Linked DNA regions of Homo sapiens: regions 2 and 3 are each linked to region 1. The links are contacts of gene promoters, found by promoter capture Hi-C in human tissues and cell types (Jung and others, 2019). All regions are on one chromosome and are shown on one strand. The core of a region is centred on a gene start or on the middle of the fragment in contact, and the rest is flanking DNA. Distances in the headings are between cores, read along the strand shown. Region 1 holds the start of COL3A1 (collagen type III alpha 1 chain). Region 2 overlaps GULP1 (GULP PTB domain containing engulfment adaptor 1). Region 3 overlaps LOC105373790 (a long non-coding RNA gene).

What was found. The method cuts DNA at HindIII sites, captures the fragments that hold promoters and counts their contacts. A contact is called where the count stands out against the background at its distance.
Region 2: a fragment that was not itself captured here is called in contact with the fragment with the promoter of COL3A1 in region 1 in 1 of the 25 tissues and cell types used here (aorta).
Region 3: a fragment that was not itself captured here is called in contact with the fragment with the promoter of COL3A1 in region 1 in 1 of the 25 tissues and cell types used here (mesenchymal stem cells).

The regions. Positions count from the first base shown.
Region 1 is chr2:188,972,333-188,977,259 of GRCh38, forward strand. COL3A1 (collagen type III alpha 1 chain) reads left to right here and starts at 2,041. Exons shown (of 51, transcript NM_000090.4): 1 at 2,041-2,236. The coding sequence starts at 2,158. The region is part of intron 1 of LOC105373791 (a long non-coding RNA gene); the gene reads right to left. The HindIII fragment of the contact is 6,513 bases long and covers 1-4,061 here.
Region 2 is chr2:188,580,744-188,585,670 of GRCh38, forward strand. GULP1 (GULP PTB domain containing engulfment adaptor 1) reads left to right here. Exons shown (of 12, transcript NM_016315.4): 10 at 3,522-3,660. Among named protein-coding and RNA genes, the nearest start is that of DIRC1, 210 kb to the right of the region's middle. The HindIII fragment of the contact is 5,483 bases long and covers 1-4,927 here.
Region 3 is chr2:188,658,059-188,662,985 of GRCh38, forward strand. All of the region lies in intron 1 of LOC105373790 (a long non-coding RNA gene), which reads left to right. Among named protein-coding and RNA genes, the nearest start is that of DIRC1, 130 kb to the right of the region's middle. The HindIII fragment of the contact is 3,716 bases long and covers 756-4,471 here.

The sequences.
Region 1 (4,927 bases), core at 791-3,290:
CTAATATAGATATATGAATTCTACGTAGATACAAAGACATCATGAGAAAAACTATGTTTCTGAATTGGTTTGAACACAGGAAATATTTTTTGTGTACAGGACAAAGATGTCTGAAAGACAGAAAGATGCATATAACAGCCTTTCCCCAGCATCTCTACTGTGATCCAGTAGAAAAGCTTATATTCATGACCATTCTCAACAGTTACTTTTCTCCCACGCCCCCAAGCAGTGACTCTCCAATCTAAAATAAAGATACACAAGAGGTTGGTCTCGTTCTAGTTTTCCTTTCCTGTCATCAAATGATGTCATCTACATTGAGATGTCTTGGTTTGTGTCCTTGTGACTGAAGATATAAGAAAGCTTGGGAGGCCGAGGCGGGCGGATCACGAGGTCAGGACATCAAGACCATCCTGACTAACACGGTGAAACCCCGTCTCTACTAAAAATACAAAAAATTAACCAGGCGTAGTGGCGGGCGCCTGTAGTCCCAGCTACTCGGGAGGCTGAGGCAGGAGAATGGCGTGAACCCGGGAGGCGGAGCTTGCCGTGAGCCGAGATTGCGCCACTGCAGTCTAGCCTGGGCGAGAGAGGGCGACCCCGTCGCAAAAAAAAAAAAAAAAAAGATGCAAGAAACAAGAAAGCAAGTTTGCCACTGTCCATGCTTACAGGATTCATGTACACCTGGGAATATACATATGACATGAGTTGAGTGAAAATTTAGTAACACAAATTAGAAGAAAGAGAAAGATGAAAATTAGTTTAAAGGAGGTAATTTACTTAAGGAGGAAAGTTTTGCATTGAGGCATAAGGAAGTGACTTCCATTAATTGGTGTGAAATGGGGAGAATTTTATGTGCACAGGCATAGAGACGGACATGTTTAGGTGAAGGTGAAGAAAATTAGTTCAAGTGACCTTGATTAGAATTGAAATGTCCACCGTAGATTATAGAGATAGATGAACTAACTATGAACTGATGATTAGGGTGTAAAGAGATATCTCCATTGCCAGATATAGCCTTATACTGTGGACAAGCATATTTTTCCTGCAGAGATTTATCAAAGACCTATAAATGGTATTTGCCCCTCTTTCAAATATGACACAAAAATTACTGCTTAGATAGATCCAGAAATACATTGGAAAGTTTTGTGGATGAGGATCTGGAAAGTATACACATAAAAGTCTAAATTAGAAATATTTATACTAATCTTTAGAGTAATGCAGAAAAAATGACCACTTTCTCTGGTACTCTTTTGCTATTCTATGTGATAAACTCTTTCTCTTCCAGTTTCCTAAAAAGTTATGTCATGAAAAGGCTGAATTTTTCTCTAGAAAAATCTGCTCTGTCTTTCCCAGGCAGCATAAAAATTGGAAATCTCACAAGAAAGCACTCTGGCTTGCTAAAGAAATTTGTGAGAAATGGAAACAGCTATAGATAAGTATCTAACTTTTAGGAAGCCATTCAAACATTGCTGAAATACTTTGTCTTTTGATATTTGCCTGAAACTTAACTTCTAGGACCCAGGGTGGGTGGATGAGTCGAAGGGGCATACGGTGGCATTTCTTTCCGTGAGTCTCTTACAGTCTCCTATTTAAATTGAGTTAGGATTACTTCTGGCAAAATCCCAACATAAAAATCTTCTAGGAAGATCAGTTCTGTAAATTAGACATACTAGATAAATGGGCATCAAGCAGTTTTTCAAAATTATGCAGTTGTTAACTTCATAAGGGGAAATAAAAATGTATGCATTTACATTGTATGTATTAAAACAAGGCAGAGCATTTCTATACGTTCCTAAGTTATACAAACATATATGTAAGAGTGAAATATGTAAAAAAACTTTTACATAAGCAGATGCATACAAACTCCAGATGTGCTCTTTTTCTTACTGTGGGTTGTGTCTTCTATAAGGGAAAAAGAAATATTTATCATTTCTTTTACTGCTGAGGGGATGGGTGCGGCTCTCATATTTCAGAAAGGGGCTGGAAAGTGAGGGAAGCCAAACTTTTTCCTATTTAAGGCCAAAGCAAAGGAATCTCAGTGGCTGAGTTTTATGACGGGCCCGGTGCTGAAGGGCAGGGAACAACTTGATGGTGCTACTTTGAACTGCTTTTCTTTTCTCCTTTTTGCACAAAGAGTCTCATGTCTGATATTTAGACATGATGAGCTTTGTGCAAAAGGGGAGCTGGCTACTTCTCGCTCTGCTTCATCCCACTATTATTTTGGCACAACAGGAAGGTGAGTAGGTACTGATTTCAAGAAACTTTATGGGATTTTTGTCTTTCTTCTCCTCACAAAGAGGGGTGTAAAGGGGAAAATCAGTTGCCTGATTCAAGATAATTTCCTCTATAAGCTCCAGATTGTGAAACGTTGAACTGACCATGGCTGTGCTTTTTACATTACTTGAAAAATAATCGCGTTATGTGTGTTTTTAAGAGTTCTGTGGTTAAGATAAGATGTTCTTGTACTAACTTGTTTTCATGTTAAAGGCACTGGAAACTTTTAAAAATGGCTTTAAAATTTTTCCCTCCTGGATTGTTAACATCTTGGAATACTTCCCCAGGCAGTCTGGAAGTTATTGGTCTCTTGCAATAATTTTATGTTCCTCTTTGTCTGCTGGATTCTTTGTAAGGTTAGAATATTGAGCATTGTTTTCTGAATAAGAATGCCTTTCAAATATCATGGATTAAGAACAGTCTAAAGGAAGATTCTACGCATTATCAGAATCATTGAATATATTTCTGTAAAATGGCTACAAGATACCTATAAACATTCTTCAAAGGGATCAAACTGCTAAAATATTTTATTATTCCTGTTTTTATTTTGTTTCAAGAATGATTGATTAATTCATCTTTTCTAGTAGCTTGATATTAAGGGACTAATATTTTCCACATATTCTACGTTTTAACCACATTCGCATTAATGAAGAAAATATTTTTTAAAATGTTTCAACAGGAGGTTTGACTTTGCTGCAAACAAGGTAAAGATACTAGTACTGTTTGACTTCAGAAAGCTGTTTTGCTATATTTTCTAATAATTGCATGTAATGTTTTTCATATTCTAATTTCCCCTAAAAACACATTTGTCTCATTATTTATGTGAAAATATTCTTTTATTTACCATAGTCATGAAAATGCTGAACAAATTGGAATACAAACTTCCATAGAAATAAATATTTAAGTGCTAAATGTAAAGATAGCTAGGAGAAATTATTAGACAATTTTTATTGCACATAACTAAACATGGTTACATTTAAACATATAGATTTTGCAAAGGACACTGCATGAAAATTTGGTTTTTGTTTGTAATATCAAATGTATTTGTTGTCCTCATAGCTAATACATGTAAATGTGTGTATGAGGGGAGGGGTAGATATACAATGAAATGTCTTCAGTTATATTCAGCCCATGGACACAAAAGAAAAGAAACACCCATTTTCCTTGTTCCCTTAATTTCCTCTCCTCCTTACCCCTCCTCTCCTTCGCTTTGCCCTCCTCCTTATCTCTCTCCACCCCTTTTGGCTCCTTTAGACTTCTCTTCACTCATCACCCCACCCCTTCCTAGGCAAGCCCATATCTACTCCTCTCTCCTCCTCTGTCTTCCCTGCCTGTTACTCCCTCCCTACTCCCCATGTGGCCTCCTTATGCCTCCATTTCTTTTTTTTAGTTCTCTCTCTCCTTGCCTCCTCACCCTTTCTTTCCCCTGAACTCTCAATCCTTCTTCCTTTCTCATTCCTCTCCCCTTTTCCTCCCTATCCTGCTCTTCCCAGGAGATGCTACAACTCACAGTCCTTTTTTAGGATACCAAATGACTACTATCCCCCACCAACCATTTATTGAAAAGACTACAAACTTAGGGGTTTTAGCTCAAAAAATTGCAACATATTTGTAGTTGCCTCGTGGTTGCAAGCTTTTTATAAGCACTGTGGCTATTTTTCTTCCCAATCCAACTTTAGTGGGGGGGTGTTTGCCACTTACAGTACCTTGACATCACATTAAGTTCTGTTTATTTCCCTCTTTCTCTTTAGATGCAAAAAATAATCAATAAGTATAAAATTTTGCTGATATGTGTTTGTGTGTTCTTAAGCTCAAAAAGAGTTGAAAGAGAACTGTTCAGCCTATTTTTTTTGTCATGAGTAAAAGTAAAGTTGAAGTGACTTAAGACAGTACATCTTATGTTCCCTGTGGGTTTTACAAGGAAATTCTGCTATTAGATAAGCTTTGGAAAAGTTACAGGAGGTATCTGAATATACAGCACACTGAGAGCTGTCATAAAGTTCTGGGGTGGGGTTTCTTATATATGCCCTCATAACTTCAGAGACGGCACAGCTCTAATGAACACTCACTTCTAGTTCACTCACAGGCATTTTCTGGATACAAACAAGTCCTCAAAAAGAATTTTGGTCGTCTTACAAATTTGTGAACATTGTATTTAATTCATGTGTTTTAATCCACCAATGGAGAAACATAGTCTGTTTTATATTTCCTGTAGATTATAAACATGCCAAGTTTTAAGTACAAAGATGCGTCACCTAGTGGCTGACAAGCCAGGTTACCATTTACATAACGAATGCCAATATTAATGTTATGTAGCTGGCTTTGGTAGTTTATAATGAGCTTTAAAAAATTCATATGCGTGAATTTTAAATGTTAACACTGCTCTCCTAAGGAAATTAGTATGTTACGGATAAATATTGCAAACACATATACTGACACGAAAACACAATGGTAACAATATTCAGAGTCTTTTTGGAAATTAGCTTAAATGTTACGGCCACTTAAAAATTCTACATATGACTATTGTTTAAATACATTTTTCATGTCTCTGATGTAGTCCTTATTTGACATAAGTATTTTATTCACTGCTTAATTGTTAGATAGATTATAGACAGCTGTTACTAAGTAATACTGCTCCATTAGGGCAGAAACA
Region 2 (4,927 bases), core at 1,083-3,582, 390 kb before region 1:
GGGGCCTCCTAGCTTAAGGACATACCTCAGACTTGTTGGTCCTTAAAATTCTAATTTTAGTTACTACCTTTTACAATAAAGTTTATCAAAAATCAGATTATTTTTGGCTGCCTGAATTTTTGTTAGTGGTGAAAGATCTCTGACATGTGATTTGCGGCTGAGGAATGTGGCTCCCGGCCAGAATCTTATGTGCGATCTTTCTGGCCCGAGCGTAGGCAGTTACAAAGGCTTTGCCTGGCACACCTCATCACATTGTATTTGGTGGGAGAAAGGTGCCCTCATCACATTGTATTTGGTGCACAGTTTGGAGGAATTGAATCTAGTACTCAGGTGCCCTGGCCAGCCATGCTCTTGTGCATATCTGCATTTATAGCCCAGGCAACTCCACTCAGGGGCCTCCTTTTAGGGGGCCTTAGGTGCCTCTCCTGAGACCACCTTATTCGAGGGTCTTGGAGACCACTTTTCTCCAGTATGACTCAGTATTCAGTACTTTTCTACTGCTAGCCCTTCCCTTCTCCCTCCTACCGTCTCTTGTCCGAAAAAAACCCTCAGGAACCTTTTGTTCAGGAGTCCCTAAGTAATGAGACAAAGCCTCACTTCTGCAGTGATACATCTGACCCTTGCTCAAGTGCCATTCCTTGGGGAAAATGGAGCATTGATGGAGCAGGCACCTTCTCTCTGGCCTCTTGCTTATACTATAGCAGTAAATGAATAAAGACTTAATTATTACTTCCATTTTGGCTGCTGTTTAATTGGCCACTGTGACATCTGGCAGCTCAGCTCTCTCCAGCTCAGCTCTTAACAGTAGCTTTCCATGTTGTAATGGAAATAGCCCCTAAAAGTCATGCACATACTGATGTTCAGACCTAGTACACTGCTTGCTTGTTATTCATTATCTCTCTGATTTATTTGAGATCCTTGTCAATCACCTCTTCCCATCACCCAAAAAGTCTTACAATTTGGAGCTCCTCATGACTATAGAAAGGGCATGATGACTAGAGTCAGACTGTTTTGAATTTTGAATCTGCTTTCTACCTCATACAAGTCACAAAGAATCTGTGGACCTTAATTCCCATGTATTTATTGTAATAAGGACATAATATCACTACTACTGATACTTCAAATAATGTTTTGAGGATTAAATATAAAATGTATGTTGTAATCCCTTTTGAAAATTCTACACAACCATAACTTTATGTACAAGAGTTTACTCCTAGTTCTGTAACTGTTCTCTCATTACTATCCTTCCTTTTTCCATTTCATTACAGAAGCCCTCTCCAAAATAAATCTTCAGGCTTTCTTCATGTTTCTCTCCATTACCTTCCTCTTAGGTCCCGATGAATGCAATATTCTATTTAAAATACCAAAAAATGTAATATTTCAGTAAAAAAAAGATCAAATTAAGCAATCCAGAATCTAAGGACTATCACATAGGAAAATCAACTCTAACTCTATGTTTTAATTTTAGAAAAGTTACTGTGAAATGATCTTATCATCTTAACAAAACACCATTTTACAAATAAATTTCAAGTATACTTTCTCCTTTCCTCCATGCCTGCCCTCTTAGGATATTTCTTTTTCTGTCATTCCTTTACAGCTGCTGCACAATATGTCTGATCATGAACAACATGTGTTTCAGAGATGCTCATCCTCTTTCTGGCGTAGTAATGGTGATTCATCTCCCTGTCTCAATATTTCTTCCATCTCTGTCACTCCTATCAACTCGCCTGATTCCAGACTATCACTGGGACTGTTAATACCACCACCTTCTAAATGTGGCTTTCCCAAGCCAGTCAGTGAGAGCAGCATCCCAAGACCTCATGTAATTTGCTAAGCAGATAATTCTTTTTTATTATCCCACTTATTTTGCTTAAATTCTGCCAAAATGTGCTATTTGTAAAGTTATCAAAAATTTAGATGTATCTTGAGTCAATGTGATGTGATCTGGAGCCTTTGTGTGCCATTGTTGTTTTCTTTGATTACCTGATACCAGAAAGTTTCAAGTAGAGGGTGGTGACAGTGTAGAAATTTACATACAGATACTTCAAAGGATCTATCAGATGTTGCAGTTGGGAAATTAGATCATTGGTAAGAGCAATTTCAGCAGAGTTCAGTGCAAAAAGAACAAATCTAGATTGATAAGAGTTAAAGATAGAATGAAGTAAATCTTAGGACAGAAAGTGTAGTATCTCTTTCAAGGAGCTTAGCCTTGAAGGAAAAAGAAAAACAGAATAGAGGCTGGAAGATTAAAGAGGGACAGAGTAAATAAATTTTTGATTGATTTGTTTTGCTTTTAATGACAGCCAAGATTTTAGAATTTTTGTATCGTGAAAAAGAGTAGAGATATAGAAGTGAGAGGGGATACAGGAATGGGATAATTAGGGGAATGGTATTGCTGAGTAACAGTAAAGGGGTGAGGGGATACAATAAACAAATTGTTAAAGAAAGGGGGATGACAGCAATTTTCCTGCATGAAAAATAATGTACTAGCAATTATTTTAGCTGAATAGCAAACCCATCATTCTCTACACACAATAAGCCTGATTTTTTCATCACCTGCACTACCTGTGAATCAGAAAATTAAACGTATTCTGAGAATTCTAATTTTAATATGAACTACTGGAAGCAATCTCTGTCCAAGTTCTCACAGGAAAAGCAAATTTTTCGCCACTATTCCCCCAAAATGGAAATTCTCTTTTATCCCTGATCAAATCAGATGGTTTTCAAAGGAGATTATACATATATACATATTGTTCCCTGTTTTACAAAGTGATAAATGTCTAATTTTGATATTACTTCTTGGCTACATTTTCATGAGATTTTCATTTATCTTTCCCTATATGTGTTCAGTCCTGGCCCAGACTGTATCAGAAAACTCAATGATTTGGGCAGTACACTGGCGATTATTAATTTAGTTTATAAGATTGCTATTTATTACAGAAAACTTGATGAAATCTTTCAGGAGTAAAATGTACTGCAATGAATATCAGTTGGTTCCCATTGTTGATATAAATACAAACTAAAATATACTCTACTTTTGAGAATGCAAAAAAAATCAATTGCATTTGAATGTTTATATTTAAGAAGGCAGGTCACTTATGTCTAATTATTCCAGTTTAAAATGTAATCTTATGCAGCGTATCTTACTGAAATCATATTTTTACATGAATAGTTTCTAATATATCTAATTCTCTGTTACAAGTAGCAGTCATTTCTATATATCCCAAAAATTCACTGTATCTTTTATATTCATCTGGAATAATATTGTCACCGTTTTTGCCATCATCTTTGAGAGCATTTTTACAGAAATTTTCTATTGCTTTCTTCTAAATGAGCATTTATCATAATTAGTGGAACCATATGAAATTGCGAATACTTAACTATTTTTGGTCTACAAAATGGCAAATTCTTATGATGCAACTGAAATTGTTGTTTACATATATTTTATATGCATATGAAATATTTAGCATTACAATGTGTCTATATGAAATATTACCCTAATTCATTTATTTTCATTGCAGGCAGGCAGTATGACACCTAAGTCGCCCTCCACTGACATCTTTGATATGATTCCATTTTCTCCAATATCACACCAGTCTTCGATGCCTACTCGCAATGGCACACAGCCACCTCCAGTACCTAGTAGATCTACTGAGATTAGTAAGCTTTCTCAACAAATCAAAGTTTCTTGTTATAGTTGCATACATTTTAAATATATAATTAAGACTTTGTGGGAAATTACATATCTTAACAACCTTACTTACAATTTTAATTATTAAAGTATTATTTTTATATTTGTATAAATTTCCATTAATTCTATTTTACTTTATAATTCAGACTACACTACTAATGACATCTCTGCTTGCAACTTTTACCTATTGTGTGAACAATTATGTTTTGGTGTATTACTTCATATTTAATTATATATCACTGTTTTGGGTTATATTTTTAATATTTTACTTTAACTTTTAAAAATAACTGGTGGTAATTAAATTGATCATTTTTTACATGTTTAATAGAGCTGGTTAAAATATTTTTGTTATCATAGGGTTTATGGACTTTTTTGTTAAAAAATATATAAATTATATCATGATTTCTTAACCTTTTGTAAGGGTTCTTTCCTATCTAAAATGCTATAAATTCATTGCTTTTCTGTTTTATCTTTTATATATCTGGAAGGAATATTAAAGTCTCTTTTTGATGAATTAGAAAACACCTATAAGCCTGTAAAATAAAAAGCAAGTTAGTTACTTGTAAAATACAATGAGCATACAGGCATTGGGTGAACGTTTCCATTCCAAATTGGAGAAATTGGCAAAGCGAAGGAGCCACAGGCCCCTTGCAAGTTTGAAACCCGGTGGGGCAGTCATTAAATCTTAAAGCTCCAAAATTATCTCATTTTACTCCATGTGTCACATCCAGGGCATGCTAATGCAAGGGATGGACCCCAAGGCCTTGGGCAGCTCCACCTCTGTGGCTCTGCAGGGTACAGCCCCCATAGCTGTTTTCACAGGCTGGCATTGAGTGACAGGCACACAGTGCAAGCTGTTGGTGGATCTACCATTCGGGGGTCTGAAAGACAGTGGCCCTCTTCTCACAGCTCCACTAGGCAGTGCCCCAGTGGGGACTCTGTGTGGGGGCTTTAACCCTACATTTCTCCTCTGCATTGCCCTAGTAGAGGTTCTCCATGAGGGCTCTGCTCCTGCCACAGACTTCTGCCTGAACATTCAGGCGTTTCCATACATCCTCCGAAATCTAGGCAGAGGCTCCCAAAGCTCAACTCTTGTCTTCTGTGCACCTGCAGGCCCAACACCACAGGGAAGCCACCAAGGCTTAGGGCTTTTACCCCATGAAGCAATGGCTTGAGCTGTATCTTGGCCCCTTTTAGCCATGGCTAGAGCTGGAGTGGCTGGGATGCAGGACATCA
Region 3 (4,927 bases), core at 1,364-3,863, 310 kb before region 1:
AATTTAACTGTTTATCAAACTAACTGGGTAGGTATTTATCAATTAAAATATTGCCATTGTTGATTTTGTGATATGCCAAATTTTTCTAATATTTTAGGAGAAATTTAAAACTTCCAAACAATATTAATTTTGTTTTAAAATATATGATATACTTTAACCAAAATGACTTTATTCTAAAGATATTCTCCTCTAACAACATGGACCAGGACCTAAAAACTTGACCGATTAAGGTGTCAGCTGAAGGGATTTCAGAATCAAGATAATTATAGTGATAACAATGAAAATAATAGAAGATAGGAAAATATATATTCTAGGATTCATGGACTTTTTCAGTTCCTAAGGAAACCATGAATTTTTTTCTCGTTCCTAGGAAAACATAGATATACCATTGCTAAGAATTTATTTGTGCATGCTTTGAAGATCACAGGATTCTGTTAACAAACCAACCTAAAAAACTGTCCCCTTTGTTAGGAAAAGCATTTCCAGAATAATTTAATTTGTCTTTATGCTTGGAAAATGGAAAATAAGGGGAGGCATCAGTCATTGTACCCAAAATATTTTTCTTTTACTTTATAAAATTTATTTAGTTTCATTGTGCTTTTATTTCTTCAGGAATCTTCTTCCACTTCATTCATTCAGTGGTTGTGCTCCAAAAGTGTTTACAGATTTTTGTTTATCTTGTTATGTATTGCTTAAAATAAGGGCACATTGGAATTCTTAAAGTTGTAAGTAACAGAAATGGGCTTTATTTAGTCAGCTAAAAGTGAGTTTATACTAAGGATACAATAAAGAGCAAAGACGAACAGGAAATGATTACACTGTACAATCACTGATACTGATACAGTTCTTAACAAACTTAGCAGGAGAAAAGGAGAGAAAACACAAATAACCTCATAAACAATGAAAAAGGGAATACCATTACTGACCCTGCAGACACTGGAAAAGATACTACCACAAACAACTCCATGCACATAAATTTGACAATTTAGATGAAATAGACCAATCCCTTGAAGATACAAATTACCAATAGATAATCTGAACATTTATCAATCTCATACATGAAAATTATATATAAAAATTGTCTCCCTAAAAAAACACATTAGGTCCAGATGGCTTCGTGGGCTATTTATATCAAACAATTATGGATAAAAAAATATCAATTCTACAGAAATTATTTGAGAAAAGAGAGGAGGTTGGAATAATTCCCAACTCACTTTAGGATATATGCATTAGCCTGAAACCAAAACAAAACAGACATTACAAGAAATGAAAACTGCAGACAAATGCATCTTAAGAGGAGGATTTTTGTTTTCTAAAATGAGAGTAAAGTTACATAAAAACACTTAAACCTAAATAAAGTACTGGTAATCTAAATGTGTATATTTCACCTAAATTTAAATATCTTTATAGATATTTTTGTTAAAATGAAGGGCAGCAATTAATAATCTAAAACAGAAAATTATGAAGTTTTTTGAGAGTTTCTATTTCATTTTGCTCATTTTGGCACATGACACTAGATTTTTTCACTCATAGGAGACTAACCAATTAAAGTTGGATGCAGTATTTTAAGATTAATTTTGAAATTGAAATCCAAAATATTAATTCCTTAAAAAGTTTTAATACTTGAATGGTGTGGAGTGCAAGGTATGAGCATATGATAAGAAACTGAGATTAGGTAACTAGCTAAAGGAGAATGACAGTGAGATTAAGATGGAAGAGAACAGAAATTTTTTATAGTCTGAGTCATTGTATGCTTCATTGTAGTGTCCCCTGAAACTACTGTCCCATAGGATTTGCCCAGGGAGATGACTGGGTTAGAAGGAATTTCTGAGGGAGAAGGTTGAGTTAGAAGAAATTTTAATCTATTCAAGGGTCTGACTACAGTTGGGTCCAGTCTCCGTACATCAAGATTACCACATAGTCTTGCACTACATCTTGAATAGCCTCTTCTTGAGCCTGTCAAATATCAAACTTCTTAATACATTATTTCCCATTCTTTGTTCCTCATCTCACTGTACACCCCCATACCCAAATACCAGTGTATTACTAAAAAAGTAACTGAATTTTTTTAATTGCAGAAAATGATAATGCATATTGAAGATAGAATAAGGACTGCTCTTTGAAGAATTCAAACACATGCATATTTTAAATAACAAAATTGTTTACATTCCAGAATCCCTAGGCTTCCTTTCCTAATATACTTTGCTTGATGTTGCAAGTGCTTTAATGTTTGCAAGGAAAGGGGCCTTCATTTAAAGTTGACATGGATTCTTTCTTCTGGTTTTTTTTTATTATTATTATACTTTAAGTTTTAGTGTACATGTGCACAATGTGCAGGTTAGTTACATATGTATACATGTGCCATGCTGGTGTGCTGCACCCATTAACTCGTCATTTACGTTAGGTATATCTCCTAATGCTATCCCTCCCGCCTCCCCCCACCCCACAACAGGCCCCAGAGTGTGATGTTCCCCTTCCTGTGTCCATGTGTTCTCATTGTTCAATTCCCACCTATGAGTGAGAACATGTGGTGTTTAGTTTTTTGTCCTTGCGATAGTTTACTGAGAATGATGATTTCCAGTTTCATCCATGTCCCTACAAAGGACATGAACTCATCATTTTTTATGGCTGCATAGTATTCCATGGTGTATATGTGCCACATTTTCTTAATCCAGTCTATCATTGTTGGACATTTGGGTTGGTTCCAAGTCTTTGCTATTGTGAATAGTGCCGCAATAAACATACATGTGCATATGTCTTTATAGCAGCATGATTTACAGTCCTTTGGGTATATACCCAGTCATGGGATGGCTGGGTCAAATGGTAGTTCTAGTTCTAAATCCCTGAGGAATCGCCACACTGACTTCCACGGTGGTTGAACTAGTTTACAGTCCCACCAACAGTGTAAAAGTGTTCCTATTTCTCCACATCCTCTCCAGCACCTGTTGTTTCCTGACTTTTTAATGATTGCCATTCTAACTGGTGTGAGATGGTATCTCATTGTGGTTTTGATTTGCATTTCTCTGATGGCCAGTGATGGTGAGCATTTTTTCATGTGTTTTTTGGCTGCATAAATGTCTTCTTTTGAGAAGTGTCTGTTCATGTCCTTCACCCACTTTTTGATGGGTTGGTTTGTTTTTTTCTTGTAAATTTTTTTTGTTTCTAAAGCAGATTCTTTATTACGATAACTTGCACAGAGTGTGACAGTATAAGAATCTTATTAAGATAATGAAGATTTTTGATGTATAAATAAAATATGTTTCAAAATTTGCAGAAGCAGTGCTTAGAAGTTAAATTCTCTCACTATTGGTATCTTGGTAGAAATTGTGCATAATCTTAATATTTCCACATATACTGATCTCCATTTTAGAGATTGGCTTTAATAGTTAATAATAATTGATAAATCCAGCTTCTGGAACCTCATCTGGACAAAGATCACTGTTATACTTTGGGAAAATGAAGGAATGACTCACAATTTAACTTTAGGAGTAAGAAGTTTTGGGAATAGGCTCCATTTTCCTGCTCCCATCTACAAATTTTATAAACAAAGTAAGGAGAATGAATTCTAGGAACGATGAACATTCTCTGCCACATCATTAATCGTTCTTCATCCTACTTTCCTAAATATTATTGACAAATATTACTTGCTGATGTTAGTTCACAATTAATTATCTTTGACATTATAGGCTTATATCCATTTACAAATTCATGTACTGTCATTAATCTTATGATTTCATGAGAGAACAGATATTCATGCTTTAAAGCTTTCATTAGAAAATCTCTATGAAATTCAATAAACATAAATTCTTAAATAAACAGTAGACCATATGGTCAGTCGTTGTCAACAATGTAGTTAGAAAATTTTTGGTGTAATACCTATAAAATAAAATTTACTATTTTAACCATTTTAAAATGTACAATTGCGTGGCATTTAGGACATTAACAGCATTATGCAACACTATCTAGTTCCAGAGCATTTTTCATCACCCCAAAAGAAAATTCAATACCTATTTAGCAGTCATCCCACATTCTGTCTAATCCCTAGCCCTCGACAGCCATTATTCTGTTTTCTGTCTCTAGCACTTGTCTATTTTGGGTATTGCATATAAATGGAATCATTCTATACATGTCGTTTTGTGTCCGCCTTCTTTCACTTAGCATGTTTTCAAGGTTTATCTATGTTGCAACGTGGATCAGTACTTCATTCCTTTTTATGGTTAAATGATATTCCATGTAACCATTCCAAAATGGATATACCACATTTCGTTTATGCATTGATGGACAATTGAGTTGTTCTTATCTTTTGACTATTATAAATAGTGCTGCTGTGAACATTCTTATATAAGTTTTTGTTGAACACTTCTTTTAAATTCATTTGGATATATACTTAGGAGGGAAATTGCTGTCACATGGTAATTCTATGTTTAACTTATTGAAGAACTAATAAGCTGTTTTTCACAGTGGCTTCACCATTTTACATTCTCATCAGCAGATATGAGGGTTCTGGTTTCTCCACATTTTTACATTTTCCAGTTTTTCAATTCTAGCCATCCTAGTGATTGTGAATGTGGTATCTTGTTGTGATTTTGATTTGAAAAATACATTTTAAACAATATATTGATATATATGGAGAGAAAAAAGTTATAAAATGTATCTTATCAAGCTCAAATTTCTTTTATTGCACATAAAATTTGACTACAGGTAAATTAGACATGAGTCTATGGAGGAAATAGTTTTGTTTAAAAATATGGCAAATTTAGAAAAGAATGTGGTGATTGGAACCAAATTCAATCCTATGCATAAACTATATATGCATTTTTCTCTGGTGGTTACCTACTGTTGCAATCCTATTCATAAACTGTGTATACATTATTCTCTGGTGATTACCTACTATTGAAGTAAAATTCTCTTGTGAATTCCTAATGAG